Linked DNA regions of Homo sapiens: regions 1, 3, 4 and 5 are each linked to region 2. The links are contacts of gene promoters, found by promoter capture Hi-C in blood cells and fetal thymus (Javierre and others, 2016). All regions are on one chromosome and are shown on one strand. Each heading gives the region's core, a stretch centred on a gene start or on the middle of the fragment in contact. The rest is flanking DNA. Distances are from core to core; before and after follow the strand shown. Region 1 holds the start of FOXP3 (forkhead box P3). Region 2 holds the start of HSD17B10 (hydroxysteroid 17-beta dehydrogenase 10). Region 3 has its middle 10 kb from the start of RBM3. Region 4 has its middle 32 kb from the start of GLOD5. Region 5 holds the start of EBP (EBP cholestenol delta-isomerase).

Region 1 (3,677 bases), core at 27-2,526, 4.2 Mb after region 2:
TCAAAGCCCAGCACCAAAGAAAGCGGGACCCACACTCGCCAGCTCTGTGATCTTGGGCAAGTTGCTTGACTACTTATACCTCCGTTTCCCTCATCTGTATAACAGGAATACAATAATGATGAGATGGAGCTCAAGGGGCCATGGTGAGGATTGAACATGATCACTTGTGAGACATGTTCAGCACTGTATCTGACCCATGGAAAATTCAAGATAAACATCAGCTACTGAGATGATGGCGGATATTTGGAATCCTAAATCCTTGGAAACTGGGGCTTTTTGAAGTAAAAGACCCCAAAGGCTGAGGGCCTCAGAAGCATCAGGCCATGATGTTCCTGAAACAAGAGGGTCAGGGTCCCAATGGGCCTCTGGGGTTCATCGTGAGGATGGATGCATTAATATTGGGGACCTGCTAGGGACCTTCCCAGTGGGACAGTGGCTGGGTCAGGGCACTCAAGCCCTAAAACGTGATGAGGCGAGACTTTTCTCTCTTTCCTCATTCAGTAACTGTCAGTAGATTCTGGGAGCCAGGGATTCTCCGACTCTTCAAGTCCATGAATTTTAGGGGATGACAGTGGGCTCTCCGCTTTCTCCTCCATGAAGTAACTTACATGCCCCTCACCCTCTGTGGGAGGGGTGTTGCAGGGGGTGCAGAACTCCCCTCGCCGGGTAGTTCAAGCAATGGGGACCATATCAATTCCATCTATAGGGAAACTGAGGCCTGGAGTAGGGCGAGGCCTCTGGGAACCCAGCCCTATTCTGTCTCTTTCCCTGGCATTTCCCATCCACACATAGAGCTTCAGATTCTCTTTCTTTCCCCAGAGACCCTCAAATATCCTCTCACTCACAGAATGGTGTCTCTGCCTGCCTCGGGTTGGCCCTGTGATTTATTTTAGTTCTTTTCCCTTGTTTTTTTTTTTTCAAACTCTATACACTTTTGTTTTAAAAACTGTGGTTTCTCATGAGCCCTATTATCTCATTGATACCTCTCACCTCTGTGGTGAGGGGAAGAAATCATATTTTCAGATGACTCGTAAAGGGCAAAGAAAAAAACCCAAAATTTCAAAATTTCCGTTTAAGTCTCATAATCAAGAAAAGGAGAAACACAGAGAGAGAGAAAAAAAAAACTATGAGAACCCCTCCCCACCCCGTGATTATCAGCGCACACACTCATCGAAAAAAATTTGGATTATTAGAAGAGAGAGGTCTGCGGCTTCCACACCGTACAGCGTGGTTTTTCTTCTCGGTATAAAAGCAAAGTTGTTTTTGATACGTGACAGTTTCCCACAAGCCAGGCTGATCCTTTTCTGTCAGTCCACTTCACCAAGGTGAGTGTCCCTGCTCTCCCCTACCAGATGTGGGCCCCATTGGAGGAGATGGCAGGGAGGTAGGCACGGCGGGGGGGTCAGGGGCCCTCTGGTACAGTGGGATGTACCCAGCTACCGTGATTCCAGCCAGGTAAGGTCTTTAAAAAAATAATAGAATAAATGGCAGAAGACTTAAAGGTGAAGTACTTAATGCATGGGCAGGGGCAAAAATAAATGAATTCATCAATTGATACGTAGATGGATAGGATTTTTAAAATATGTCAGCTGCCAGTCTTTATGGATTTCAGAGCTTTGAACAACTTGAAATGCTGTCCAGGTGCAACTGAAAATTTCAACTGCATCTCTCTCATCTCTTTGTCTCTTAGCTCTTGATGCCTCTCATCCTTCTCTGTCTCTCTGCTCACCCTGTCTTGCTCTTTTACATGTTTCTCTGCCTCTCTTTCTCCCGCCATCTGTCTGTCGCTACACTCAGACTCTCTTTCCCCGCATCTCTCCTGGCCTCTGACCATCTCCCCTATCTCTGTCTCCTCCATCTTGACCACACTCCATCGATCTCCTTTCCTCCATCTCTCCCGCTCTCTTTTCTTGCCTTCCCCCACCTGCCTTCCCAGCCAGCATCCAGCCTAGAGCTTTGTACACAGCTGGCGTTTAATAATAGTAATGTCGCCGAGGACCTTTACATTTTATGAGAGTGAGCATCAGTTCTGTTCACCCTAGTAGCAGGAGGATTGCAAGGTGCCGGGGCAAGCTGAGCACTTAACTGAACTTTGCTTGTATCGCTTTAGAGGAGACCCTTGGGGCGGGGGGGCAGGGAGCACTTCACACCATTGTCAACCGTAGTTTAGCTGTGTGGACCTACCCCAGGACTGCATGTGTGTGACCAGAGTCCATATTCAGGAAGCAAACAGGTTGTTCAGGGCTGGGGTGAGCTCGATTCTGCAGGCTTAGCACAGCGTTTGGCACAAAGTAAGTGCTCACGAAGTGTTAGCTATTAGTATTTCTGTAACCAAATTAGAATCATGCTATATATTGGTTTTGTTCCTGCTTTATTCAATTAACAGTAGTGTTTTTGAAGCTTACTAAAAATTGTTTGAACACATGATCTTTCATGATGGACAAGACTGTCCTCACATCAGCATGAACTTTGATTGATTTGACCAAGTGCCGATTGTTGGACATTCCGGTTGTTTCTCGTTTTTTTCTATAAACATCCCTGACTGCTTCCTTGGATTCCTGAAAAGGGAGTTGCTGGGGCAAAGGGGGCGTGCATTTTTAAAGTTTATGACCCTCTCTGCTAATTCTCCTTCCAAAAGGTTGTCCTATTTTATGCTCCCTCTACTTAAGCTAACCCTAGGTGAGTATTATTATGTTTTAATTATTTCCCAACATGACAGGTAAGAAAAACACATTATCACATTGTTGAAATTTGCATCTTGTGATTACTTTTACTATTCATTGGCCATTCATGCTTTTTTTTTTTTTTTTTTGGTTGTCTGGTCATGTCCTTACTCCTAATAGGGTGTTCATCTTATTTTTCCCTTATTGATTTGCCACAGCTCTTTATTTGGAATGGTTATTAACCTTTCATCAGCCATTACATATATAGCAAATATTTTCCCCAATTCATCATTTGCTTTTTTTCTATTTGTTTATGGTGTTTTTTGTGATGCTTATGATGGTTTTATACAGTCAAATAGGTTAGTCTTTTTTTCTGTGGCTTCTGTCTCTGGTTTTGTGCTTAGAAAGTCCTTTCCTACTTGAAAATGAGATAAATGTTCACCTATGTTGGCTTCTAGTCTCTTTTATGGCTTCATTTTTTCCATTTACTATAGAGGTTAAGAGTGTGGGTACTGGAGCCAGACTGTCTGGGACAAACCCAGCGTCACCCCAAGCCCTATGTGTGATTTTTAGCCAGGCACTTAACCTCTCCATACCTCCATTTCCTCATATGTACTGCAATGGTTATAATAGTACCTTCCTCAGGAGTCTTTGTTTAGATTAAAATTTTTAACCACAGTAAATACTTAGCACAAGGCCTGACACACAATAAACCCAAGATCAGCATTAGGTGTTAAAACTTATATCTTGAATGGATCTGGGCATTTTAGGGTATATGATGATGGTGACATTTCAAACTGGGCAGGGAGGGGTTGTTGGGATAATGGACTGACTATTCACTCAATAACTTTATCTTCTCCCTAATTATCTCAGACACATTTGTTAAACCATACTCCATGGTCCTCCAGTTTGAAATGCCACATTCATCACAAATTCAGTTCTCTCCATATGTGGGTCCATGTCCAAGCTTTCTATTCTGTTCTCTTCCCCAGTATCTGTTCTTATACCAGGGCC
Region 2 (4,127 bases), core at 1,534-4,033:
TAATTGGTTTCTTTTGTAATCCTACTTATAGGACGCATGCATTATTCTGGGAAGGGGTTCCTAAGACTTCACCAGACTCCCATAGGTGTCCGTAGCATAGAAAAGGATGAGAAACACTGCTCTGAAGAGTAACCATAGCTAACACTTATATAGCTCTTGCTAAAGGCCAAGCACTGTTCCAAGTCCTTTTTAAATACATAGTTGTTAACTCATTTATTCCTAACAACCCTACGAATAGTCATTTGTTTATACTCATTTTACAGAAGAGGAAACTGAGGCACATCAGTTAAGTAACTTGTCCAGGGTCATTCGGCTAGTAAATAATAGAGCTGAGGCTGGGCGCGATGGCTCATGCCTGTAATCCCAACACTTTGGGAGGCTGAGGCAGGGCGGATCACCTGAGGTCAGGAGTTCAACACCAGACTGGCCAACATGGTAAAATCCCATCTCTACTAAAAATACAAAAATTAGCCAGGCGTGGTGGCCCATGCCTGTAATTTCAGCTACTCTGGAAGCTGAGGCAGGAGAATTGCTTGCACCCAGGAAGCGGAGGTTGCAGTGAGCCAAGATGCGCCACTGCACTCCAGCCTGGGCAGCGGGAGACTCCATCTCAAAAAAAAAAAAAAAAGCGGTAGAGGGGAAGAGATCCAAGACAACTCGAGAACATGGTCAGAGAGAGAAAAGATGGTGTGTAGATGCTGGGGAGGGCAGGAGGTTATTCCAGGGAATGACAAGTGCAATAAGGTGGCCTGGACAGGTGGTTAAAGTAGAGAGGAGGTGAAGGTTCCCGGAGTTGGGCAGGTGAAAGAATCATGAAACTGTGCCTGGAAATTCTTCCAAGATTAATTCATTAATTCATTTATTTCACACATTTGTTTTAAGTGTCTTGTACACGCCAAGCAGTGTTCTCGGCATTAGGTGAACCAGCTGGACAAGCCCCTGGTGCCATGGGGCTTACCTTCCAGCAGGGGGAGAACTACACAAACAAGGCCAGGTTAGCGGAGCATGCAGGCTCACAAGCCTGTAGGCACAATCCTGCAATGCCAAAACTTCTGAAAAGCATAAGGTTGTTTTTTCATACTTTGGAGCCCAAACTCAATAGATGACAAAACCTGACCTGAAGTAGTGTGAGGCTATTTATAGTCTTTATTCACACTTGGTGTGAATTTTCATACCTTTCACTTCAGAAATATTAATATTTCATTACGATGCTCCAGGCTTTTCTCAATAGTTATATAATATAGACTATACAAAAAGTTATGTTTGACTAGTTTTTTTAAAGAGTTATGTAATATAAATTACATGTCTTCCTTTCTCAAATTGAAAAAAACTCTGAATTCCACAGCACATCTGGCCCTAAGGTTGGAAAATGGATTACGGACATGCAAGTGCTATGAAGATAATTCAAATATGCAATGGGATAGTGTCTAGGTGGCTACAGTTTGAATATTTAGGGAGGACCCCTCTGGGAAGGTGATATTTAAGCTTAGTTCTGAATGAAAAAAAATAAAAGCAGTCATGCAAAGATCAGGGGAGAGCATTCCAAGCAGAGGGAGCAGCTAATGCAAAGATGAACACAAAGGAGGCCACTGTGGCTACAGCATATTGGGCCGGATGAAGAGTGCTATAAATTGATGGAAGCACTTCATGTAGATAGGAAAATTGTGAGACCGGTGTGCTAAATCCTTTGGTAAATACGGTGTAGTGATTATGAGTGTGGTGGCTGTCAACAACTAGAAGGCCTGGAGGGGAATCTTCCTGGGTGAGAAAGCAAGTGGGGGGAGATATTTCAGATAGAGAAAACATAAAGCAGTTCTGAGGCTGAAATGGTGGGCTAAGATTTATGGCCTGAAGACCTTGGTTTGAGGAAAAGTATAGAAGGAAGACAGATTAGATATCTGGGCTCAAGACTCTAATGACATAGCTTCTGGAAGCTGCCTGAAAGATGTTCTAGGATGACAAAGACCTGGGTCTTAAATAATAGTCTCTGGTTGAAGTCCAATCTGCAGTGTGTGATCTGGGCTTTTGGACTTAAATTAGACAAAGATAGAGGAGAGTAGCAAAGCCTGAACTGATGAAAGATGTTTTTGCCTCTTTAGGTTTGTGCTTCTCAGCAGCTGTCCTAGAATGTCTGTCTCCAAGCATCTCTCTTAGCGGCTTTCCACATTCATCTCTCTGTGATCCTACCTGGCATCTCTCTTCCTATCTCGGCCTCAACATATTTCTCTTTACATGGCTCTCTCTCTCTCTAACTCAGACTCCTCATCTTTGGATCTCCTTGTCTGAGTGTCCCAGAATCTGGTTCCGTCCATTCGTCTGTGTCTGTACTGTAATTCTCTTTCTCCACCTGGACTGTGCCCTCCTGGAAGGCATGAATCTTTTATTATTCCGCTGGGTATCCCAGGTGCCCCGCACACCGTCTAGCATATAGGAGTCTCAAATACATTCATACTTGAATTAAGACTTTTTCAGAGGAGAAAGGCATCCGTTCTCAATATCCACCCCTCTTCCCCCACGCGGAGCAGGCCACTTGCCAAAAGGCCAGCTAGAGAGTAGGGCGAGGGGTGTTGTGGTATTGTACTTCTGCTATTGGTCTCTTTCCCCAGTTGAAATAACTCTGGGGATACCTTAGCAGGCGGAATCCGCCCTCTGGCCAAAGGACTAGCGTACCAGGCCACGCCCCCACGTCTCATGCGGCAGCGGCAGACGCCCCGGCCCGTCGCATCCGCCCCTTCCGCCGCTTCGCCTCGGCCAATCAACGAGCGCCCGCGCCCCCATCCCCATCCCGTGGAGTGGCCGGCGACAAGATGGCAGCAGCGTGTCGGAGCGTGAAGGTAGAAGGTTCTTTGCCTCTGTTGCTTGCCTTCCTTTACGGGCCGGGACAGCGCGGCCGTGGAACTAGGAGAAAGAGATCGGTTTCGAGGGAAAGGGTCATGCTTATGTAGGCCTGGTATTGTGGCCGTTGGGCTCAAGAGGTGAAAGTCAGCACTCCGCGGCGCATCTGTCTGTCTGTCTGTCTGTCTATCTATCTATCTATCAATCATCTATCTATCTATCGTCACGGGACGGGCTGTCTGGGGATGAGATCCCTTCTGCCCCCGAGGTCCCAACGCTGAGGAGAAGCAGCACACCTAGTTTACCCGCAGGGGTGACCACGACCTCTCCCCTCCCCCCTTCTCCTCAGAAGCCTGGAGAACAGGCAGGCGACAGCGTGGGGATGGTCTGGGCAATGTAACAGCTGACCCTGACCATGTCCCTTTTGACAGGGCCTGGTGGCGGTAATAACCGGAGGAGCCTCGGGCCTGGGCCTGGCCACGGCGGAGCGACTTGTGGGGCAGGGAGCCTCTGCTGTGCTTCTGGACCTGCCCAACTCGGGTGGGGAGGCCCAAGCCAAGAAGTTAGGAAACAACTGCGTTTTCGCCCCAGCCGACGTAAGTGGGGTCACCTCTCCTCTCCCAGGGTGTGCATGAGGTCACCAACACCGGCCTGGGAACCTGTGGGGGTCCCTCCCATAAGGGTCTCCTCTATGGGGGCGGTAGACCCATCTCCTTGTCTCTTTTGGCCTGAGCCTTCAAGCACTGTGGGACCACCTGTGATAAGGATTCTCTAAAGCTGGGATTCACAACAATGAGGATGGGGATTGGACGTAACAATCTCCTGGAGGAGTTATGTATGGTTTGAAAATGCATTTTGTGCCTTGTAATTTTATATTTACAAAGTCAAAAAACTTGTTTTCATGAAACAAACTACAGAAAGTGAAACTTGATGAAATCATCTTAGCAGGTAAGGATACAAAAAAGCTAGTTTATCTTCCTATCAATAATTCTCACAAGAGGGTTATTTTTTATTTTTATTTTTGAGATGGAGTCTCGCTCTGTTGCCCAGGCTGGAGTGCAGTGGCACAATCTCAGCTCCTTGCAACCTCCATCTTCTGGGTTCAAGCGATTTTCCTGCCTCAACCTCCCAAGTAGCTGGGATTACAGGCACCTGCCACCACGCCCAGCTAATTTTTTTTTTTGTATTTTTAGAAGAGATGGGGTTTCACCATGTTGGCCGGGCTGGTCTTGAACTCCTGATCTCACGTGATCCGCCCGCCTCGGCCTCCCAAAGTGCTGGGATTACAGGTG
Region 3 (3,745 bases), core at 981-3,480, 4.9 Mb after region 2:
TGTGGTGGCTCGCGCCTGTAATCCCAGCACTTTGGGAGGCCGAGGTGGGTGGATTGCCTGAGCTCAGGAGTTCGAGACCAGCCTGGCTGACATGGTGAAACTCCATCTATACTAAAAATACAAAAATTAGCCGGGCGTGGTGGTGCACACCTGTAGTTCCAGCTACTCAGGAGGCTGAGGCAGGAGAATCGCTTGAACCTGGGAGGCGGAGGTTGAGCCCGAGATCGTGCCACTGCACTCTAGCCTGGGCAAGACTCTGTGTTAAAAAAATAAGCAAGTGGGACTACATCAAACTAAAAAATTTCTGCACAGCAAAGGAAAAACAATCTACAAAATGAAAAGGCAACCTATGGAATGGAAGAAAATATTTTCAAACCATTTATCTTATAAGGGATTAATATCCAAAATATATAAGGAACTCATATAACTCAATAGCAAAACCCCAAATAAACTGATTTTAAAATAGCCAAAGTACCTGAAAAGACATTTCTCCAAAGAAAACATACAAATGGCCACCAGGTATACAAAAAGGGGCTCAACATCACTAATCATCAGGGAAATGCAAATCAAAACCACAATGAGATATCAACTCATACCTATTAGGATGGTCACTATAAAAATGAGGAAAGGACCAGACATGGTGGCTCATGCCTGTAGTCCCAGCACTTCGGGAGGCCGAGGCAGGTGGATTGCCTGAGCTCAGGAGTTCGAGACCAGCCTGGCTGACGTGGCAAAACCCCATCTCTACTTAAGGTACAAAAATTAGCTGGGTGTGGTGGTGGGCACCTGTAACACCAACTACTCGGGAGGCTGAGGCAGGAGAATCGCTTGAACCCAGGAGGCGGAGGTTGTAGTGAGCTGAGATTGCACCATTGCACTCCAGCCTGGGTGAGAGAGTGAGATTCCATGTCAAAAAAAAAAAAAAAAATAGGAAAGATAACAAGTGCTGAAGGGAACTCCTATACACTATTGTAGGAATGTAAATTAGTACAGCTAGTAGGGAAAATTGTGTGGAGGTTCCACAAAACATTAAAAATAAACTACCAAGTCCGGGCATGGTGGCTTATGCCTGTAATCCCAGCACTTTGGGAGGCCGAGGCGGGTGGATCATGAGGTCAGGAGATGGAGACCATCCTGGCTAACATGGTGAAACCCCGTCTCTACTATACAAAACATTAACCGGGCATGGTGGTGGGCGCCTGTAGTCCCAGCTACTCGGGAGGCTAAGGCAGGAGAATGGCGTGAACCCGGGAGGCAGAGCTTGCAGTGAGCCAAGATCGCACCACTGGACTCCAGCCTGGGCGACAGAACAAGACTCTGTCTAAAAAAATAATAATAATAAAAAAAAATAAACTACCATAGCATCCAGCAATCCTACTTCCAGGTATATATCCAAAAGTTATGAAATTACTATCTCAGAGATATATGCACTTCCATGTTCATTGTAGCATTACTCACAATAGCCAAAACGTGGAAACAACCCAAATGTCCATGGCAGATGAGTGGATAAAGTAAATGATGTGTATATGTACAGTGGAATATTATTCAGCCTTAAAAAAGGAAATTCTGCCATTTGCAACATGGATGGAGGACATTATGCTAAGTGAAATAAGCCACTCGTAGAAAGACAAGTACTGCATGATCTCACTTGTATCTGCAGCCTAAAAAAAGTCAAACTCATAGAAATGGAGTACAATGGTGGTTACTAAGGGCTGGGGGAATTTTTGGTCAATGGGTACAAGCTTTCAGTTATAACATGAGTAAGTTCTGGAGATCCAATGTACAGCATGGTGACTATAGTTAATAACACTGTGGTGTATACTTGAAATTGTCTAAGTAGATGATTAAGTGTTCTCATTTCACTCACAATAAAGGTAACTAAGGTGATAGATGTGTTAATTTGCTTTATTGTAGTGATCATTTTAAATGTGTATATTTATCAAACACCCTGTTATACATCTTTTTTTTTTTTTTTTGAGATGGAGTCTTACTTTGTTGCCCAGGCTGGAGTGCAGTGGCACGATCTCGGCTCAGTGCAACCTGCACCTCCTGGCTTCATGGAATTTCTCCTGCCTCAGCCTCCCGCGTAGCTGGGATTACAGGCATGCGCCACCATACCTGGCTAATTTTTGTATTTTTAGTAGAGATGGGGTTTCACCTTGTTGGCCAGGCTGGTCTCGAACTCCTGACCTCAAGTGATCCACCCACCTCGGCCTCCCAAAGTGCTGGGATTACAGGCGTGAGCCACTGCACCTGGCCTATACATCTTAAATATACTTTTTTTTTTTTTGGTTAACCACACCTCAAAAGAGCTGGGCAAAAAATTAATGTGAAAAGTTTCCATCAAAAAAGGACTAATAATCCAGAAAAGATTTGCTAAATAAGACTGGGCATGGTGGCTCACACCTGTAATCCTAGCACTTTTGGAGGCCAAGGTAGGAGGATTGCTTGAGTCCAGAAGTTTGAGACCATCCTGGACAACATAAATATAGTGAGACCCTGTCTCTACAAAAACCAAAAAAGATTATTGGGCATGGGTGATGCATCCCTGTAATTCCAGCTACTCTGGAGGCTGAGGTGGGGGGATTGCTTAAGCCTGGGAGGTCGAGGCTAGAGTGAGCTGTGATCATGCCACTGCATTCCAGCCTGGATGACAGAGCAAGATGTCATCTCAAAAAAAAAAAAAAAGTAAAAGAAAAGATTTGCTAAACAAGCTTATAGTAGGGGCATTAATTGATCTTATAGTGTGAATATTGACAGTGTGAATATAGGGTGAATATTACGCGGTTTTGTTTTGTTTTGTTTTGTTTTTTTATTGAGACAGGGTCTCGCTGTTACCCAGGCCAAAATGCCACTCACCGCAGCCTAGACCTTCCAGGCTCAAGCAGTCCTCCCACCTCAGCCTCCCAAGTAGCTAGGACCACAGGCGTGCACCATCACACCCGGCTAATTTTTATTTTGGTTTAACAGGGGCAGGGGGCAGGTGGCGGGTGCGCCTCACTGTGTTGCCCGGGTTGGTTTGGAACTTCTGGGTTCAAGCGTTCCTCCTGCCTCAGCCTCCTAAAGTGGTGGAATTACAGGTGTGAGCCACCGCACCCAGCCCAGATGTACTTACATTTAAAAAATATAGACATTTGTTCTGAATGTGATCACCTGTAACAGAAACATGTCCTTTGGGGCCACTGCTATGAGAAGGTGGGCAGGGACACTGCAGAAGTCAGACGACAGATAGGGAAACAAGAGGGCCCTTTTAAGGCTCCCACTGTAGAGACTATGGTGTTGTACATGGGAGCGACGCTGTCTGAACAAGATCAGGGTGAGGATCATAGAACGAGACAGGAAGCAGCCATCCTGGTTCACCCACAATTAACACCAAAGATGTTAAAAGGTTAAATTCACAGTAAATCATTTCTCCTGAAATAGAGGAAGATTCTGTCTTTATGTTGTTGTGCTTGTTTTTAAATCATCAATATAGTTTAACACATTCTAAGCAGTTTTGTGTGGGATAATTTGAAGGACATGGGTAAACTCTAAAAAATCTTTTCATGTTATCTATGATAACTAGCAAGGAAAATAGCTGGATGATGAGTAGGTGAACTTGCTTTCTCAAGTAGGCACATTCCCTAAGTAAAGGTTTTTGTATGAGTTAAGCCTCATGGTAGATAAACTTGGATAGCAACATATAAACTGATGTTAAGTTGCAAATTCTTCATGTTTCATGCACTGTGCACTTTGGATACCATGG
Region 4 (3,734 bases), core at 798-3,297, 4.7 Mb after region 2:
GACCCCCATCTCTCAGGATGGACGTTGCTCAGATGGATGTTGGAGTCCATCTCCCCTTAGGCTTTGATCACACTGATGATAACCCAGAACACATGGACTTTGGAGCCTGATAGACCCTCTTTCAAAGCCTGGAACCCCCAAGTCCTGGTTGGATGGTAGGAGAGTCTAGCGTTTTGGATCATCTAAACCTTGAGCTGCTGAGGTTTTTACAAGACTGGTAAGAATCGGTAGGACAATGCACAGTCCACACACGCTCTCCTGATTTCAGTCCCTTCCCCCTAATCCCACACCCCTTCTGAAAGTAGAATTCAGGGCTGGGGGAAGGGAAGCAAGCAATCCATATAAATGCCAGGGGCCAGTGTGGGCTTGGGACTGTCTCAGTTGGAACTTAGGAATCATGTGCACATGTTGTTTAATGTAAATGTATGTTGGGTTTAAGAAAGAGTAAACACTCCCCAGAATTGTGTCTTCATCTCTAGTAAATCCACAGTTTTACTTCAGTTGTTCTCTTGAGAACATGCATAATAGATTGTGCACCATGAGGCAAGGATGCACAGTGAGAAAAAACTTTGTTCCTCTTCTGAAAACTGTGCTTATGAGACGGGTTTATACATTTATGTGAGAGGCAGGGTATGAGCTCCAGAGAAAGACTTTAGGGGAGGATGCAGGGCCCCAGTAGCTCAAAGTAGTCTCAAGAGAAATAAAAAATAGTTTGGACTAAATGAAAATCAAAATAAAACTTACCAAATTTGTGGGATGCAGCAAAGCAGTACTTACCTAGAGGGAAATTTAAAAGGCACTTATGGCTTCTGCTGTACTTTTTCTTGGATCACTGACTAGTAGAAGCCAGCCATCATTCGAGGATGCTCAAGCAGCCAAAAGCCGGTAAATTTGGGGGTTATTTTTTATGTGGCAATAGATAACTCATAAGAGGTGTTTCTGAGCTCTTTGATGGTCTGTCTGGAGTTCGAGACTTTGGAGCTTTTTCGTGGTCTGTATCCATGCCATGATGTCTGGGTCTTTTGGGCATTCTATGTTTCGCATTTTTAAGTGACCTTTTGGGGTTCTCTCTCTAGGTTTTTAGATCTCTGAATTATTTGGGAATCTATGTCCCAAAGCATGGGGATTCTGGGCTGTTTTTTTCTGTTCATGTTCAGAACGTGATCAAGTCCAGAATTTGAATTATCTGAGCTCTCTGGCAGTCTGTTCTGGGTATGAGGTCACTGGGGTGTTTGGCAGTCTGTGTCCCAGGTTCACATCCATGCACTCTTTGGAGGACGGTGTATTGTTTCTGTTTATTCTTTGAGGTATATGGATTTCTAAGTCCCAGGAAGAGACATCACCAAGGTGACTGGATTCTGCATCCAGAACACTAGGTGTCAGCTGTTTGGGCCACTGAGTCCCTGGATATGAAGTCTTTAATGTGTTTGAGAACCTGTGTCCCGACTTTGATATTTCTGAGTTTGAGGGCAGAGGGAATCAGTACTCTGCACTGTTTATGAGTATATATCTCAGGATGTAAGGCTCCCAAACTGTTTGTGAGTATCCCTGACATTTATGTCACAGTATATGAGATCTCTGTTCATGGGTGTATATACCAGGGTGTAAGGTATCTGAGCCCTTTGATCGTGTGTGTCCAAAGTTGTGGGGTCTCTAATCTGTTTGAGTCTATATTTCCCAGAATAAGAGATTTCTGATTTTTTTGTGGGTATATATTCCAAGATGTGAGTTCTGTGATCCATTTGGAAGTATATTTGAGGTTTCCGTTCTGTTTGTGGGTATATGTCCAATGGTGTAAGGTTTCCAATGTGCTTGTGAGTATTCATCCCAGGGTATGAGGCCTCTGATCTGCTTGTCATTATACAATGACAAGATGTGAGGTCTCTCTTCATGAATGCATGTCAAGGGTTTGAGGTCTCTGATCTGTTTTTGGTTTTATGTCCCGGAATGTTAGATCTCTGATCTCTTTGTGGGTGTATGTGCCAAGGTGTGAGTCTCAGCTTTTTGTGGCTATATTTCCCTAGATGTTATATTTCTGAGCTTTTCTGGTTGTATTTTTTTAGGGATGTCAGTACTTTAATCTGTTTATTTGGTGTGTGTTGGAGAATATGAGGACTATTCTGTCTGAGGGTGTATGTCCTAGGGCATGAGGTCTCTGCTATGACTGTGGGTGTACATCTCTGGGTATGAGGTCTCCAAAATGTTTGTGGGTATATTTCCCAGGATGTGAGTTCCCTGAGCTCCTAGTGGGTGCATGTAAGGTCTCAGATCTGTTTATCCCTGTATATGTTCCTGTATATGTGAAGTGTCAAGGGTATGAAGTCTCTGATATTTTTGTGGCTATATGTTCCAGGATATGAGGTTTCTAATCTGTTTGGGGGTGGATTGCTCAGAGTGAGTTCTCAAGTATGTTTGTGGTTATATGAGCTAGGATTTAAGTATCTGATCTTTTTGGGTGTGTAAGTCCCATGGTGTGAAGTCTCTGAGCTCTTTGATGGTATATATGCAGAGGTGTGAGATGTCTGATTTGTTTGGTGGTATATTTCCCAGGATGTGAGGTCTCTGATCCATTTGTTGCTGTATACTAGTATGTGATTTTCATTGGTGTATGTCAAAGTCAGTTTGTTGGTGTATTTCTCAGGATATGAGGTCTCTGGTCTGTTTCTGGATGTATGTTCCCAAGTAAGAAGTCTCTGATCCATGTGCCCACATATGTCTCTGTATGTAAGGTCTCTGATCTGTTCATGGATACACTGAGTTTGAGATCTTTCATCTGGTTGCAGGACAGGCAAGCCCCAAAGTTGAGGCTTAGCTCAGGAGGGTTCTTGGCTTTGCCTAGGAAGGAATTCAAGAGTGAGCTGGTGGTGTTAAATAGCAGCTTTTATTGAAGCGGCAGTGTATAGCAGGAGCAGATGTGCTGCTCCTTGCAGAGAAGAGCTACCCATAGGCAGTATGCCCAAAGTAGCAGCTCAGAGGCCGTTCTGCAGTCATATTTATGCCCACCTTTTAGTTACATGCAAATTAAGGGATGGTTTATGCAGAAATTTTAGGTATCTGGGCTATTTCTGCAAGTATGTCCCAGGATGTGAGGTTGAGGTCTCTGACATGTTTGTAGATGTATTTACTAGAATAGAAGATCTCTGACATGTTTGTGGATGTATGTCCCAGTGTGTGAGGTCACTGATCTGATCTGTGTTTGTGCATGTATGTCCCAGGATTTTAGGTCTGTGATGTGTTTGTCATTGTAATTATCAGTATGTGAAGCATCTTTCATGGGTATATGCTAAGAATAGAAGTTCTCTGATATGATTGTGATTGTATGAACCTAGGTATGAGTTCTCTTATCTGTTTGTGGAGTATGTCCCACAGTGAGAGGTTCCTGAGCTGGTTGGGGGTTTATTTACTAGGATATAAGGCTTATGACCTTTTTCTTGTTGTGTGTGAGGTCCGTGGCTATCGTTGTATCATTGTGTATCCTGGTATGTGAGATCTTTTTCATGGGTGCATGTAAAAAATGTAAGGTCTCTGATCTATTTGTGATTATATGTCCCTGCATATTAGGTCTCTGATCAGTTTGTGGATTTAATTCCTACAGTTTGGCATCATCAATCTGTTTGCAGGTGTATGTCCCATGATGTAATGTCTGATCTTTTCGAGGATGTGTGAGGTATTTCATCTATTCCTCAGTGTGTTTCCAAACATGAGGTCTCTCAACTGTGTGACAGTGTATGTTC
Region 5 (2,710 bases), core at 211-2,710, 4.9 Mb after region 2:
TCTGTTTTAAGACCATGACTAAAGGCCAGGCACCGTGGCAGGTAATTCCAGTGCTTTGGGAGGCTGATGCAGGAGCAGCACCTGAGGCCAGGAATTCAAGTCCGGCCTGGGCAACACAGCGAAACTGTCTCTAAAAAAATAAGAAAATCAGTCAGGTGTGGTGACAAAGGCCTGTAGTCCCAGCTAGTAGGTAGGCTGAGGCAGGAGGATCGCTTTGAGCCCAGGACTTCAAGGCTGAAGTGAGCAGTGACCACATCACTGCCCTCCAGTCTGAGACTCTGCCTCTAAAAAAGAAGGCCGGGCGCGGTGGCTCACGCCTGTAATCCCAGCACTTTGGGAGGCCAAGACGAGTGGACCACTTGAGCTCAGGAGTTCAAGACCAGCCCGGCCAACATGGCAAAACCCCGTCTCTACTAAAAATACAAAAATTAGCCAGGTGTGGTGGCGTGCGCCTGTAGTTACAGCTACTCAGGAGGCTGAGGCAGGAGAATCGCTTGAACCTGGGAGGCAGAGGCTGCAGTGAGCCGGGGTCATGCCACTGCACTCCAGCCTGGGCAACAGAGCGAGACTCTGTCTCAAAATAAAATAAAAAAGAAAAGAAAAAGAACATGACTGAAACACAAGGCCACAGAAAGGCTGAAAGCTTGTTCCAGCCCTTTAGAAGCCATATTATGATGTGGTAGAAACAGTCCCGGTCTCAGCCCTCGGGGGTCAAAGTCTGGTGGGAGGCACATGGGAACAACACCTGATCCCAGCCCTCCCTGGTCACAGTCTGGCGAGGGAGATACAGGACCAGGCCTGGTGTCTTCCTTCAAGGGTCACAAACTGCTCACGACCACCAAACCCAGTCCTGTGCTCCGGGGTCACGGTTTGGTAAGAGACACAGGAACCAGGCGTGGTCCAGTTGCACAGGTCAGCGTCTTAAACCGTTCAACAAAAAGCTATTCCCTCCCCCACGTAGTCCTGAAAACTGCAACTGGGGGACAGAGGAAAGAAAACGAATCAGAACTACAACCCTCGGTGCCAGCGTTTGGAAAGCCAGAGCCTCCCCGCGAGAGCGTGCAACGCCGTCAACCTGCAGGGAAGAGACGGATATTGAAAGGCCGGTGTCTGGCGTGCAGCGCTAGAACGGAACACAAAGCCGGTCAATCCGAACCAGAACCCTCCAGTCCCGCTGCCCAATGAGAAGACGGATCTTCTGTCCTCTGGACAACCGTGCGGTAGCTGGGGGTCTCGCGCAGGCGCAAAAGGGCGGTGGGGGGGGCGGGTGGCAAAGGGTCTCGCGCTGGCACGCCGAGGGCTGGCCGCGTAGCCGGGGAGAGCTGGGGGAGGGAGCAGGGGCCGGGTGGAGGGCACTCACCAAGGCGCGCGACGGCAGCGGCCTCCCACGCTGGCTCCGGGCTCTCTTTAGGCTGGGTCTCGCGCTCTGTCACATCCCTAGTTCGGGCTCATCCCCTAGTGGGTTCTCTTGCCTTACGGAGCGAGCCAATGGTGAAGCGAAGAAGGCGGCCCGTGCCGCTCCCAACCAATAGACACTCTCTTTGTACCTCTAGCCCCGCCCCCGCGCGTGGCGCCATTTTCACCTGAGTTAGGTTTGGGGTGGAGACTGGGACGCGCCAAGGTTAGTGGGCGTTTTGGATCCGTAGCCAATCTGCATCGAGTCCTGGCTTCAATTTCCCCATTCCCTTATCAGTCGATCAAAACGGGGACTCATTAAGGTCTGTACCCGCTTCTTCCGCTGGTGAAATTAGCGTTGCGTTGCATCCTTTCACCTCCGCCCTTTTCTAGGTAGAGTAACCCTTAGTATAATGCAACGAAACTGTTACAAGCAGATCACACGCTATACACTGCAACCACCCCCTCCCCAGCTCTTCAGTGCTCAGAACTCCTCAGTCCTAATAGCAGCGGTCATTCTCTCTTCTCCCGACCTCAAGTCAGAAGAACTAGTTAGAACCCAGGCCTCTCAGTCCTACTGACCAATTGGCATGAAGACCCTCAATCTCCATATGCCAGTTCTAAAAAGCCAATCAAACGCCTAACCACCAGTGGGCCCCCAGATGGAGCAATCAATCAGAATCCAGACCCATCCCAGACCTCCCATCCAATTAGAACCCACAACCCTCAGTCCTAAGGATAAATAGGCACCAACCCTTCATCTCTCTTGCTTTCTCTCCTCTGTGTCCCACTCAGAGCAACCAATCAGAATGGGGATCCTTCAGTTTTCCAGCCAATCAGGCCTCCCCCACATCCAACTATGCAATCTGTCCCTGCCCTGATCAAACCAAGCAGGACCAGGATCCTGCCATCTTCAGGCTCATCATCTAATCAATCATAAACTAACCATGAACCAATCACAGTCTGCTCTCTCTTCATGGTTTCCAGCTTCCAAACCTTTATCCATGCTGTGCTCCCTTCCTCACTCATTCCTATTCCCCTCTGAGCAGTGAAGAAGAAGCCTATTGAATATTTCCTACTTTTATTTGACAATAACAAATTGTATATAAAAAGGAAGAAGGAAGGCGGGGAGGCCCTGGATCTCCCCTTCTCTGTTTCCCCAAGCATCCCCCTCTAGGCCCCAGCAGGCACCACCCCCTTCCTGCCTTGTGGTGGGGTGGGGATTGACAGGCATGAAAATGGTGTGATTTTGTGTGTGTGTGTGTGTGTGTGTGTTGAGGTGTTGGGGGTCAAGGATGGAGGGGGTCAAGGAGTA

The links. Contacts are between HindIII fragments. The CHiCAGO score rates a contact against its expected background, and 5 or more counts as called.
Region 1: a contact is called between the fragment with the promoter of FOXP3 here and the fragment with the promoter of HSD17B10 in region 2, in 1 of 17 cell types (neutrophils). The highest score is 7.0, in neutrophils.
Region 3: a fragment that was not itself captured here is called in contact with the fragment with the promoter of HSD17B10 in region 2 in 1 of 17 cell types (M0 macrophages); the score reaches 5.1 in M0 macrophages.
Region 4: a fragment that was not itself captured here is called in contact with the fragment with the promoter of HSD17B10 in region 2 in 1 of 17 cell types (neutrophils); the score reaches 5.8 in neutrophils.
Region 5: the fragment with the promoter of EBP here is called in contact with the fragment with the promoter of HSD17B10 in region 2 in 2 of 17 cell types (neutrophils and monocytes); the score reaches 9.9 in neutrophils.

What each region holds. Positions count from the first base shown.
Region 1 is chrX:49,262,309-49,265,985 of GRCh38, reverse strand. It overlaps FOXP3 (forkhead box P3), which reads left to right and starts at 1,276. Exons shown (of 12, transcript NM_014009.4): 1 at 1,276-1,325. The HindIII fragment of the contact is 2,410 bases long and covers 1-2,402 here.
Region 2 is chrX:53,433,026-53,437,152 of GRCh38, reverse strand. HSD17B10 (hydroxysteroid 17-beta dehydrogenase 10) reads left to right here and starts at 2,783. Exons shown (of 6, transcript NM_004493.3): 1 at 2,783-2,834; 2 at 3,267-3,431. The coding sequence starts at 2,808. The HindIII fragment of the contact is 11,572 bases long and covers 1,488-4,127 here.
Region 3 is chrX:48,582,718-48,586,462 of GRCh38, reverse strand. It overlaps the pseudogene MRPL32P1. Among named protein-coding and RNA genes, the nearest start is that of RBM3, 10 kb to the right of the region's middle. The HindIII fragment of the contact is 972 bases long and covers 1,745-2,716 here.
Region 4 is chrX:48,727,527-48,731,260 of GRCh38, reverse strand. No RefSeq gene overlaps it. Among named protein-coding and RNA genes, the nearest start is that of GLOD5, 32 kb to the left of the region's middle. The HindIII fragment of the contact is 4,400 bases long and covers 1-3,734 here.
Region 5 is chrX:48,520,558-48,523,267 of GRCh38, reverse strand. EBP (EBP cholestenol delta-isomerase) reads right to left here and starts at 1,460. Exons shown (of 5, transcript NM_006579.3): 1 at 1,361-1,460. It overlaps PORCN (porcupine O-acyltransferase), which reads right to left. Exons shown (of 15, transcript NM_203475.3): 15 at 2,460-2,710. RefSeq lists silencers at 1,176-1,355, 1,416-1,645, 2,560-2,619. The HindIII fragment of the contact is 9,622 bases long and covers 646-2,710 here.